Linked DNA regions of Homo sapiens: regions 1, 2 and 4 are each linked to region 3. Evidence: promoter capture Hi-C in 16 types of primary human blood cells and fetal thymus (Javierre and others, 2016). All regions are on one chromosome and are shown on one strand. Each heading gives the region's core, a stretch centred on a gene start or on the middle of the fragment in contact. The rest is flanking DNA. Distances are from core to core; before and after follow the strand shown.

Evidence for each region. The method cuts DNA at HindIII sites, captures the fragments that hold promoters and counts their contacts. A CHiCAGO score of 5 or more calls a contact.
Region 1: a contact is called between a fragment that was not itself captured here and the fragment with the promoter of RTP4 in region 3, in 5 of 17 cell types (M0 macrophages, total B cells, M2 macrophages and 2 more). The highest score is 6.0, in M0 macrophages.
Region 2: a contact is called between a fragment that was not itself captured here and the fragment with the promoter of RTP4 in region 3, in 1 of 17 cell types (megakaryocytes). The highest score is 5.8, in megakaryocytes.
Region 4: a fragment that was not itself captured here is called in contact with the fragment with the promoter of RTP4 in region 3 in 5 of 17 cell types (M0 macrophages, total CD4 T cells, naive CD8 T cells and 2 more); the score reaches 6.2 in M0 macrophages.

What each region holds. Positions count from the first base shown.
Region 1 is chr3:187,695,417-187,698,116 of GRCh38, forward strand. No RefSeq gene overlaps it. Among named protein-coding and RNA genes, the nearest start is that of RTP2, 5.8 kb to the right of the region's middle. The HindIII fragment of the contact is 8,412 bases long and covers 1-2,700 here.
Region 2 is chr3:187,653,884-187,656,583 of GRCh38, forward strand. No RefSeq gene overlaps it. Among named protein-coding and RNA genes, the nearest start is that of SST, 15 kb to the right of the region's middle. The HindIII fragment of the contact is 525 bases long and covers 1,126-1,650 here.
Region 3 is chr3:187,367,067-187,369,766 of GRCh38, forward strand. RTP4 (receptor transporter protein 4) reads left to right here and starts at 1,319. Exons shown (of 2, transcript NM_022147.3): 1 at 1,319-1,530. The coding sequence starts at 1,376. RefSeq lists an enhancer at 1,180-1,529. The HindIII fragment of the contact is 4,178 bases long and covers 1-2,700 here.
Region 4 is chr3:187,715,078-187,717,777 of GRCh38, forward strand. It overlaps LOC100131635 (hCG1645011-like), which reads left to right. Exons shown (of 3, transcript NR_034062.1): 2 at 545-663. It also overlaps a transcript of RTP2 not described here. Among named protein-coding and RNA genes, the nearest start is that of RTP2, 14 kb to the left of the region's middle. The HindIII fragment of the contact is 2,494 bases long and covers 197-2,690 here.

The DNA of each region.
Region 1 (2,700 bases), core at 143-2,642, 330 kb after region 3:
CCTTGTCCTCACTTCCGTTTTCAGTGGCTCATCATCCCCCAACTCACAGTCCTCAACTCAGATGCCCCAGCCTTGCTGACCCTCTGAGGCATGACCTCTCCCTTGACACAATCTTGGCTGTTTAGCCCTACCCCCAGGAACCACAACTTCAGTAACAGATGCTGCTGACGCCACTTCATCCCAGTCCCGTCCCTTCGTGTTCCTTAAGATTCCCAGGGTTGGCCAAGTTCTCTGGAGATCACTTGACTCCTGGGCTCCTTGACATCCATTTTCCCAGAAACACCATGCATCCACAGCTAGGCAATGGCCCCGAGGGTCACACACCCTGCACCAGCCCTGCTGAGCACCATCTGCAGCTGATGAAAGTGAATCCAGAACCTCATGTTCCTGCTAATTTACAACCACTCCAGCCTGATGCTCTTTTTGTACTCTTTTGCTGAACCCAACCAAATAAAGGCAGAGGTTCTTCCAGATTGCCTAGTTCTTTGCTCTTGCAGGTCCACAGAGAAATCTGACAAGCCACCAGGATTTCTTTGCCAGTGCTGAGTAAAGCCAGCCTGTGGAGACAGACAGCAGGTGGGGCACAGTGCTCAAAGCTGCCCCTCTCTGAGAACACATCTAACCAAACACTCCATCCCTGAACCTCACCTTCAGCTCTCAGGCCCCACGTGGGGGCTCTGAAGGTGGGCTATAGAAAGATGTGAATGTCGGGACAATTAAGGGTGTGAATAGGAGAGTTTCTGTTTCCAATTCCAGACAGTGATCAACACAGTGTCATCTGAACCCGGCTCATGAGTCAAACTGCCCGCCTCACAGCTATGCCTGAGGGAATGGGAACAGCAAATGCATTTACCCTGAAGGGGTGGTCCCATGGACTAGCCAGAGGGGAAGGTGCTGGGGGACAGGTGCTGTCTGCCTCCACTTGCTCACACCTCCCCTTGGGCATGACCTCCCCTGAGTGGAGACACACAGCCCTGCTCTCACCTGGAAGATCCACATCTGCAGATCTGCCTCATCTGCCCCTTCTCTCACCATCGCCAGGAACTAGGATGGCTATCAAATTTGCCATAATGTATTTTCATACATAATGAAAGAGGAGCATCTCCCTGCATCATGGGTAGCTAGTGTGTCCTACCACATCTCTGCTGAGCACAGGAATGTATAAACGCACTTTAAAACATGTGTATGGGTTATGGGTGGTGGCTCACGTCTGTAATCCCAGCACTTTGGGAGGCCAAGGCGGGTGAATTGCTTGAGGTCAGGAGTTCAAGACCAGCCTGGCCAACAGGGTGAAACCCTGTTTCTACTAAAAACACAAAAAATTAGCCAGGCATGGTGGCGCACACCTGTAGTCCCAGCTACTCTGGAGACTGAGGCAGGAGAATCACTTGAACCCAGGAGGTGGAGGTTGCAGTGAGTCGAGATCTTGCCACTGCACCAAAAAAAAAAAAAAAAATGTGTGTATGATCCACCCCTTGTGAGGCTGAGGTGAGCGATCACTTGAGCCTGAGAGTTCAAAGCTGCAGTGAACTGTGATGCCGCTACTGAACTCCAGCCTGAGCAACAGAACGAGACCATGTCTTAAAAAAAAAAAAAAAAAAAAGACACAACTGTGGCATTTAAGGTCTATGAACCCTACAAAGGGGCTGTAAGCAACTGGCAATTGGCACCCCATCCCTATGGTCTACTTTCTTTCCCAGACCCAGTTGACCAGACCCACTTTCTTCCCCCACCCCCGCCGCTAAGACAGAGTCTTGCTCTGTCACCCAGGCTGGAGTGCAGTGGCACAATCTTGGCTCACCACAATCTCCGCCTCCCAGGTTCAAGCAATTCTCCTGCCTCAGTCTCCCAGGTAGCTGGGACTACAGGTGTGCACCACCACGCACAGCTAATTTCTCTATTTTTAGTAGAGATGGTGTTTCACCATGATGGCCATCATGCCCAGCTAATTTTTGTATTTTTAGTAGAGGCAGGGTTTCACCATGTTGGCCAAGATGGTCTCTATCTCCTGACCTCGTGATCTGCCTGCCTCAGCCTCCCAAAGTGCTGGGATTACAGGCGTGAGTCAACGCACCCAGCCCAGACCCACTTTCCATATCCTCTCAGGAAATAAGGTAAGACAACACTGCAGATGCTACTCAAGAGAGGCAGGAGCACAGAGATAATCTATTTACAGTGTTTATCTACCTTTAGCAAACCTCACACCACCTTTACCTGCCCCAGAAGGCTTCATGCTGCACCTTTAAACCTGCACCCACCTCTTGGTGGTATAAGTCCACATACATTTAAGTGGGAATTTCAAGTTCTGGACTGGAGTTCACCAACAGAAATTTCTGTAATGACGTTCTATATCTGTACATTGCAATATGTTAGCCACTGGCCACATAAGGGTACTGTGCACTTGATATGTGGCTGGTGTGACTGAGGAACTGAATTGTTAATGTTATTCCATTCTAATTAATTTAAATTGAAATATCCACATATGGCTAGTGGCCAACATATTGGACAGTGCAGGTCTAGACAATTCCAGCCAAGCAGACCCTAGCACCAGAGTAAAAAAACTAAGTTTCAGAACGACAGGAGCAGGCTCTCCAGGAGAGGACCAGGTACCTTGTCCCTAAGCATTGAATGGGGCCACTGCCCTCTCCAAAAGGAAGCAAGGCAGGATGGGCAGAGGCAGCTGAAGGTGAGCTTAAGGAC
Region 2 (2,700 bases), core at 138-2,637, 290 kb after region 3:
GGACTTGTCAAGGTCAAGGGCTATGTCTCTGAATATCCACAGCACCAAGTCAGTGCATTGGCACTCAATATTCCTTGTAATTAAATTAAATATATACAAAGAAGATTTTGTTTACTAATCCTTGAGGACCATGGGACGCTGCATTTAGAACTAAACCTAGCTAGCATTAGGAACCCACTTACCCAAATTTACTAACAGAAATTGACAACATGACCTTCACAGTCTTACCTCCCCATAAGCCAAATTGTAAATTCTGCAATTAATATATGACAGACTCATACCTGCAAGTGTCTTACAAAGATAATGCAATGAGTACTGGTAAGAGAACCAGGAGAATGAGAGTTTAATCCTGAATGTAACAATGGATATGAAACTTTTCTTCCATAAGCCTCATTTTTCTCATTTATAAAAAATAAGTTCCCAGTGTTTGACAAAACGTCTTCCTATGGTTTGGTGATAGCAACAGACCTAAAAATCCAGCATATTTTAGCTCTTATTTCAACCAAGAGCTGATCAAAGCAGCCTGTGGACCATGAGACAGAGTCCATCAAAAAATAAAAATAAGTTGATGTACTTAACACTATAGTTGAAATACTTCTTTTCTAGATCTTTAGAATGATTTATAACTCTCAGAAACAAACACAAACAAAATATAGACAACACTCAATTGTGTGCAGAGATGGACGAAAGGATGGGAATACACATCACACGAAAAAAGAAAAGTAAATAACTAGGCATGGCTAGGAGGAAAAAGAGAGAACATGGGTACTGTGAGGGGCCAGGGCATGAGAGCTCTTAGCAGTGAGTACCCTACCACCAGAGGCATTTCAGCAGTGTGTAGATGACTCCTGGATAGGGGTATGTCAGAGCAGGTTTAAATATTGAATGATGAGTTAGCTCACAGTCTCAAGAATGGTTTCAAGTTCTAAATGATGGGTGAGGGCATAGCCAGGAGATGCTGATTCTCTCTTGGGTCCCAACCACACATGTCTCTGGGAAAATTCTCAGGACAGGATTTGAAGGACATTAGTGCATTCCTGGGAGATGGTAGAAGCTGTTACAGTAAAGAAATTTGCCAGATATAAACAGCTTTCCTAAAAAGGCAAACTATATAGCAGATTATAAAGCTTTGGGCTATAATGACCTGGGGTCTACACCCCAATGAATCATTGATTTTCTTTGTGGCTGGGTTCAGTGAGGCAGATCCAGCCTTCACCCTGAGGTTAGCCTCTCAAGTCAGCTCCTTCCAGATGATTTTACTTTTATAAACAAGTGTCTGATTTGTTCAGCTCTCTATCTCCCTAGAAGTACCTGTTGGGAACTTATGCTAACTGAAATCAATGGAGTTTAGAAACATCTGCTGAGATTCAGAGAGTTCTCGTTATAGACAATTTCCAAAGAAGAAATTTCAGAGAGGTCAAATCTCAATGTGATGAATAAGTACAAAGGGACAGTAAGTAGATGGACTTAATTATATAATCTTCAAATAAAGCAAATTATAACATAAAAATTGCCTGGAAGCATAAAATGCTTATGGCTAAATGAAAGGCACTGTAAGACCAGCAGAGTTATTTAGATTTTAACTTTTTTCTCTAGTAGAAAGAGATCATCCAGCTTCATAGTGTTAAAAAAGAACTAAAGACATCAACAAGCTTTGTTTTCCTTCTTTACAAATTTGAAACAACTCAGATGTTTCTCACTAGAGGAATAGATAAAGATATTGTGGTATATTTTGCAATGAAATACTATCAACAATAAAAATGACTGAAAAATTTAAATGGATAGACCTCAAAAATATAACATAAGGTAACATTCATAAAGATTGTTAAAGCACAAAGCAATGCAACATATTAGTTGTGATTTTATACACATATAGTAAAAGTTTAAAACTTTAGGTGGGAAGAATACACATTGAATTCCTGATAGTGCCTGTCCCTGCAGAAGAGAAAAAAAACCCTTCAACTTTGTATTTATTTGTTATAAGTTCTGAAAAATATAAATATTTACAAATGGCATATTATATTATAAACATAAATATTTACAAATGGCATATTAGTCACTATGGTGACTTTCCAAATATACCCAAACCTGATATTTTTTTCTCACTGTCTTAGAAAGTGGTTCTCAAAATTAGTGTGCACCAGCATCTCCCGGAGGGCTTGTTAAAACACAGATCTCTGGAGCAATCACCAACATTTTTTAGTTATTAGGTCTGGGATTGGGCCCAAGAATCTGCATTTCTCACACATTTCAAGGTGATTCTAACACTGTTGAAGAACTAATGTCTTGTATCATAGTTACTAGTAAACATGCATTTAGACTTCGAACTAAGGACAAATATTTTAACTCATTAATATTTGTAGCTTCCACCTCGCCTAGCAAATAGACCCTCAATAAGTATCCGTAAATCGAAGGAGTTCATCTTAAAAAATAAAAATAAAAATCTATACACACACTCATATACACATTCCACCATAAGTGAGCCACTTAATAACAATGCAAAATAAACAATATATGGATGAATATGAATTGGCAATTTTATAAAAGCAAACAAAATATTACCTTAAGAGGCATAGCATACACTCAAGAAAAACCTCAGTCTATGGTCAAGAGTGTCTCATACCTAGCAGGATCTAACTATCAAGTCAGAGCCCCTAAATCATTTTTATCATTGCACCCAGAGATTATGAATCTAATTTT
Region 3 (2,700 bases), core at 69-2,568:
GCTGGCTCAAGAGTGAAGCTGCAGACCTTCCGGGTGAGTGTTAACAGCTGATAAAGGCAGAGCAGACCCAAACACTGCGCAGCAGCAAGATTCATTGCAAAAACCAAAAGAACAAATCTTCCACCACGTGGAAGGGGACCCGAGCCGGTTGTCAGTGCTGGCTGGGGCAGCCTGCTTTTATTCTCTTATCTGGCCCCACCCACATCCTGCAGATTGGTCCATTTTACAGAGAGCCAATTGGTCTGTTTTACAGAGAGCTGATTGGTCCGTTTTGACAGGGTGCTGATTGGTGCATCCACAAACCCTGAGCTAGACACAGGGTGCTGATTGGTGCATTTACAAACCTTGAGCTAGATACAGAGTGCCCATTGGTGTATTCACAATCCCTTAGCTAGACATAAAGGTTCTCCAAGTCCCCACTAGACTCAGGAGCCCAGCTGGCTTCACCCAGTGGATCCCGCCCCGGGGGCAGCAGGTGGAGCTGCCTGCCAGTCCTGCGTGTGTGCCCGCACTTCTCTGCCCTTGGGCGGTCGATGGGACCAGGCACCATGGAGCAGGGGGTGGCACTCGTCGGGGAGGCTTGGGCCATGCAGGAGCCCAGGGTGGGGAGACTCAGGCATGGCGGGCTGCAGGTCCCGAGCCCTGCCCCACAGAGAGGCAGCTAAGGCCCAGCGAGAAATCGAGCTCAGTGCCGGTGGGCCGGCACTGCTGGGGGACCTGGCGCACCCTCCGCAGCTGCTGGCCCAGGTGCTAAGCACTTCACTGCCCAGGGCTGGGGGCCTGCCGGCCGCTCCGAGTGCAGGGCCCGCCAAGCCCACGCCCACCCAGAACTCTAGCTGGCCTGCAAGCCCTGCATGCAGCCCCGGTTCCTGCCCGTGCCTCTCCCTCCACATCTCCCAGCAGGCTGAGGGAGCCGGTTCTGGCTTTGGCCTACCCAGGAAGGGGCTCCCACAGTGCAGTGGCTGGCTGAAGGGCTCCTCCAGCGCGGCCAGAGTGGGCACCGAGGCCGAGGAGGCTCCGAGAGCGAGCGAGGGCTGCGAGGGCTACCAGCATGCTGTCACCTCTCACTTTGCCTATTATAAAAAATGAGAGAGAGAAAATAAAAGCGAATTTATATGTGACCCCAGAATCTAGAACAGAGCTCTTTATCTCTCTCTCAGCAAGGCCTATTAACTAACACAGTTTTGCTGCTGTCTGTTTTCAGAACAAAGACTTGTTCTGTGTACTCAGACAGTCTAAAATGAAGGTTGAAAAAAACAGCTCATGTCCATACACAGAAACAGAAACTGAACCGAACACCGAAACTGAAACTGTTTGTCTCTTCCTGAGAAACGAGCAAACCTGAAAGCTACTCTCTCAGCTTCAGAGGGAAAAAATGGTTGTAGATTTCTGGACTTGGGAGCAGACATTTCAAGAACTAATCCAAGAGGCAAAACCCCGGGCCACATGGACGCTGAAGTTGGATGGCAACCTTCAGCTAGACTGCCTGGCTCAAGGGTGGAAGCAATACCAACAGAGAGCATTTGGCTGGTGAGTGTGGGTTTCCCAGGCAATAGCTCTTCTGAGAAGAGAGGCTCAGGCTCAGCTTAGCATGATTTATTCCTCTGAGAGCTTGTTGAAGGAGTAAATGTCACCAGGGCCTCCATCCTATTGTGGTCATAGTACTCTTTAGGGTCGACATGATAAGACGACTCCAAACCTCCATTTTGTTTAACTGCTGGAAGTTTCTTCTTTTACTAGGTTTCCCTCCGTAAATATTTCTGGAAAACCCTGGAGAAGGCTCCCTATTCCATAAATTTTCCCTTCTAGTTTCTCACCACGTCATTTGTTCCAGACTACCTCTAGAGTCTTTTGCAGTCTCCCCAGCAGTCCTGACCAGCTTCCCCCAGCTGCACCAGCTCTCCAAGCCTTGGCACTGTTCAGTACAAGCCTGGGACGGAGCCTTTTTTTTTTTTTTAAATATCTTAAGAATTGGCTAAGATCAAGCAGTTACTCTGAACATTGCTTTACTGAAGGCCTGGGGATAATAGTATAGAATGATGTTGCAAAAACTAAATCTAAAACCCAGTTCATGGAGTCACCAAGTAATACTCCTCCCTTACTCACCACTTCCCTCTTTAACCCCCAGCAAGCCTCCAGGTTGCAGGAACCAGTTTCCTTGACCATGTTAGGAGGGTGAGAATTGCTGACCTGGATAATCAAATTTATTTTTAAATGACACACAGGACCTTCGGTATAGTTTTCATCTGACCTATTACTCAGCTTGCCTGCCTGCCCCATCCTGCCTCAGGTATGGCCTACTCCATTCCTTATGGACTATTAGCTATGCCATGCATCTTCAGACTTCCACACTCTTGTTCATGGAGTTCTGCTTGTTCAGCAGACCCTCCCCTCACCCCTCCCTGCTCATCCTTCAAGGCCCACTCTAGTGCCTCCTCCTCCTAAAAGCATTCTCTGGTTCTCCTAGGCAGAGTAAGTATTCCTTCGTATACATTCCCATAAGATAATGGGATAAGATAAAATATATATGTATATGTATACATAAATGATATATAATTATATATACATATGTACTATGTATTTCAGAATAATAAATTTATAAATAATATATGTATTATTATATATTGTATCAAATACAGTATATGCTTATTTTTAGCTGCAGAATCTGTTGTTTAAATAAAGCCTCCTAAACGTCTCCAG
Region 4 (2,700 bases), core at 194-2,693, 350 kb after region 3:
GCCCCCAGACTTCCATGGCCCTGCTGTCCTGAGACTCCTAGGAGGAAACACTTACTCTGAATCCCTCGCCATGATTAAAATCAGTTTCTAAATGGGGTAGGATCTTGTGTAATCTCAAGTTTGAAAGGGACCTTAGAGTCATTTAATCCAACCCTCCCTGCAAGCCAAGATTGCTGCCAACTCACCACACATCTTAAGCTTAAATCACCTTCAGTGATGAGTTCAGATGCTCACCCAAAGCCCGTTCCATCTTTAGACACAGGAAATCCTTTATTCTATCAAGCTGAGTTCTTCCTCTTTATAATTCCTGTTCATTGATATAAGGTTCCCCCCGCCAGGGTTCTGTCAAAGAAGTAATCAGATACATGAATGTATATGAAGAAGGTAACCATTTAGTGGCAGCACTGAGGTTTCTGGAAATAGGAAATCATGGTAGTATTATTTCCGAGGAACTAATACTGGCATAGGCCTTGGGGGAGCTGTGTCCTAGTCCTTATAGAATTTCTTTGCTTAATGTCACTTGGCTTCCTTTCCTTTATGATAGAGTTGGATTCGATCAGAATTCTCACCACTGGTTCTAAGTCAGAATCATCTGGAGAGCAAGAAGCAGAATGTCTGAAATCTTCCTATGGTACAGAACTGCTGGATGAGACCATCAGTGGGGTAAGCTCAAATACTCCATGATAATTCAAGACATGATTAACTATAATAGTCTCCAGTTCTTGTTGAGGTTTTTGTCAAGCCCATGATGGCCTGGTATGTAAGTTCTTGGTGATTCCTATTTCTTAAAGACCTACCTAGATCTACAGCTTTCTCCCATCTGCATGATCAAAGTGTGTCGTTCACAGAGCACAATTATTTTGTCCTGTCGTGCTCTTTTGGACAGAGACCCACCAGTGACATAAAAGACAAAACTAGCTAGAGAAGAAAAAAGAGACGTATTGCCTGATCTTAGCTGAGTGCCATGACCTTCTTGTTCCCCATTCACCTCATCTGTAAAGAGGGAAGACAAACCCACTTCAGTGAGTTGTCGTGAGGGTAATTGAGACCGTGAGTGTAAAGCCTACTGGCAATGAGAAGGCTCTCCAAATCTCAATTCCCTGAGTCTTTGACAGCGAGAAGAAAGTGAAAACGAGAAGCTAGGGTGGTGCCTTTTCTGAGAGCATTTTTCTTCATCTTTCTTCCCATGAACAGCCTCTGTTGAATTGTATCATGTCCCCACAAAATTCATACGTTGAAGTCCTAACTTCTAGTACCTTAGAATGTGACCTTATTTGGAAATAGGGTCGTTGCAGATATAATTAGTTAAGTTGAGATCATTAGAGTGGGCCTTAATCTAACACAAGTGATGACCTCATAAAAAGGGAAGAACTTTGGATACAGAGACACAAACACAGAAACACCATGTGAAGATGAAAAGATTGAGGTGATGCTTCTACCAGCCAAAGAGTGCCAGATTGCCAGGAAATGACCAGAAGGTAGGAGAGAAGGCTGGAACAGATTCTTCCTTACAGCCCTCAAAAGAAACCAACAGTGCCAACACCTTGATCTCGGACTTCCAGCCTTCAGAACCATGAGGCAATAACATTCTATGGTTTAAGCCATTTCAGCTGGTGGTACTTTGTTTCAGCAGCCTTGGCAAACTAATTACACCGCTAGAGGTGACTCCTACTGGTGACATCAAAGGACAGCTCTGTCCAGATGGAAGGAGGCACTGAAGTTCCACAGAACAAATGGGAGACACACGAGAACCCTGAGAGAGCCTCTCCATGGGCCACCAGCTCAACATGGCTGTCCACCTTGTACTGCCGTGAATGGACAATTTGCCATTCTGAACATGCCCCTTCTCAAGATATGCAGAATCCATAGGAACATCAGTTTTTTAGTATACTTTAAGTTCTGGGATACATATGCAGAATGAGCAGCTTTGTTATATGGGTATACATGTGCCATGGTGGTTTGCTGCACCCACCAACCTATCATCTACATTAGGTATTTCTCCTAATGCTATCCCTCCCCTAGCCCCCAGCTCCCGACAGGCCCCAGTGTGTGATGTTTCCCTCCCTGTGCCTATATGTTTTCATTGAGGAACATAATTTATTAGCCATAGTTTTATATATTTTGGTGTTTCCTTGTAATTTTCCTTCCATATATGTCCATGTTTTGTTTTGTGATTTTGACTACGAACCTTTGAGGGCTGGAACCACGTTACAAACCTCACTGGGAGTCAGGTGATGTTTGATAAGAATTCTTGGTGTGACCTTAAGCATGTCACCTTTCTTTTCAGGCCTGGTTTCCTTGCCTATGGAAGAATTATTATCACTAAGCTCTCTCCAGTTACAATATTCTGTGATCCCAACTCCATATGTATTTACATAACCAACCTGCCTTCTTGGGGTCCTAAAGGGAAAGAAAGACCCAGGAAACTCATCTTTTAGATATGTTGAGCAGCTGTCATCTGGGGTTAAATGAGTCAGCCTCATTTAATAAGGGGCTAGACCCCAAACGTTTGGGAGCAATGTAGTACCCAGGGGCTGTAAACCCCACTAGGTCTCCTTCCTAGACTCCAAAGTCCTCCTGCCTGGGCATCTGTCTTTCTAGAAGGCCACTTTTTTGTGTTAATCTTTTTTCTTTTTTTCTCCCATGAGTCATAGGGAATGAGAGAAGGCCACTTTCTTAGTGAGTGCTGAAGCTTTCTCT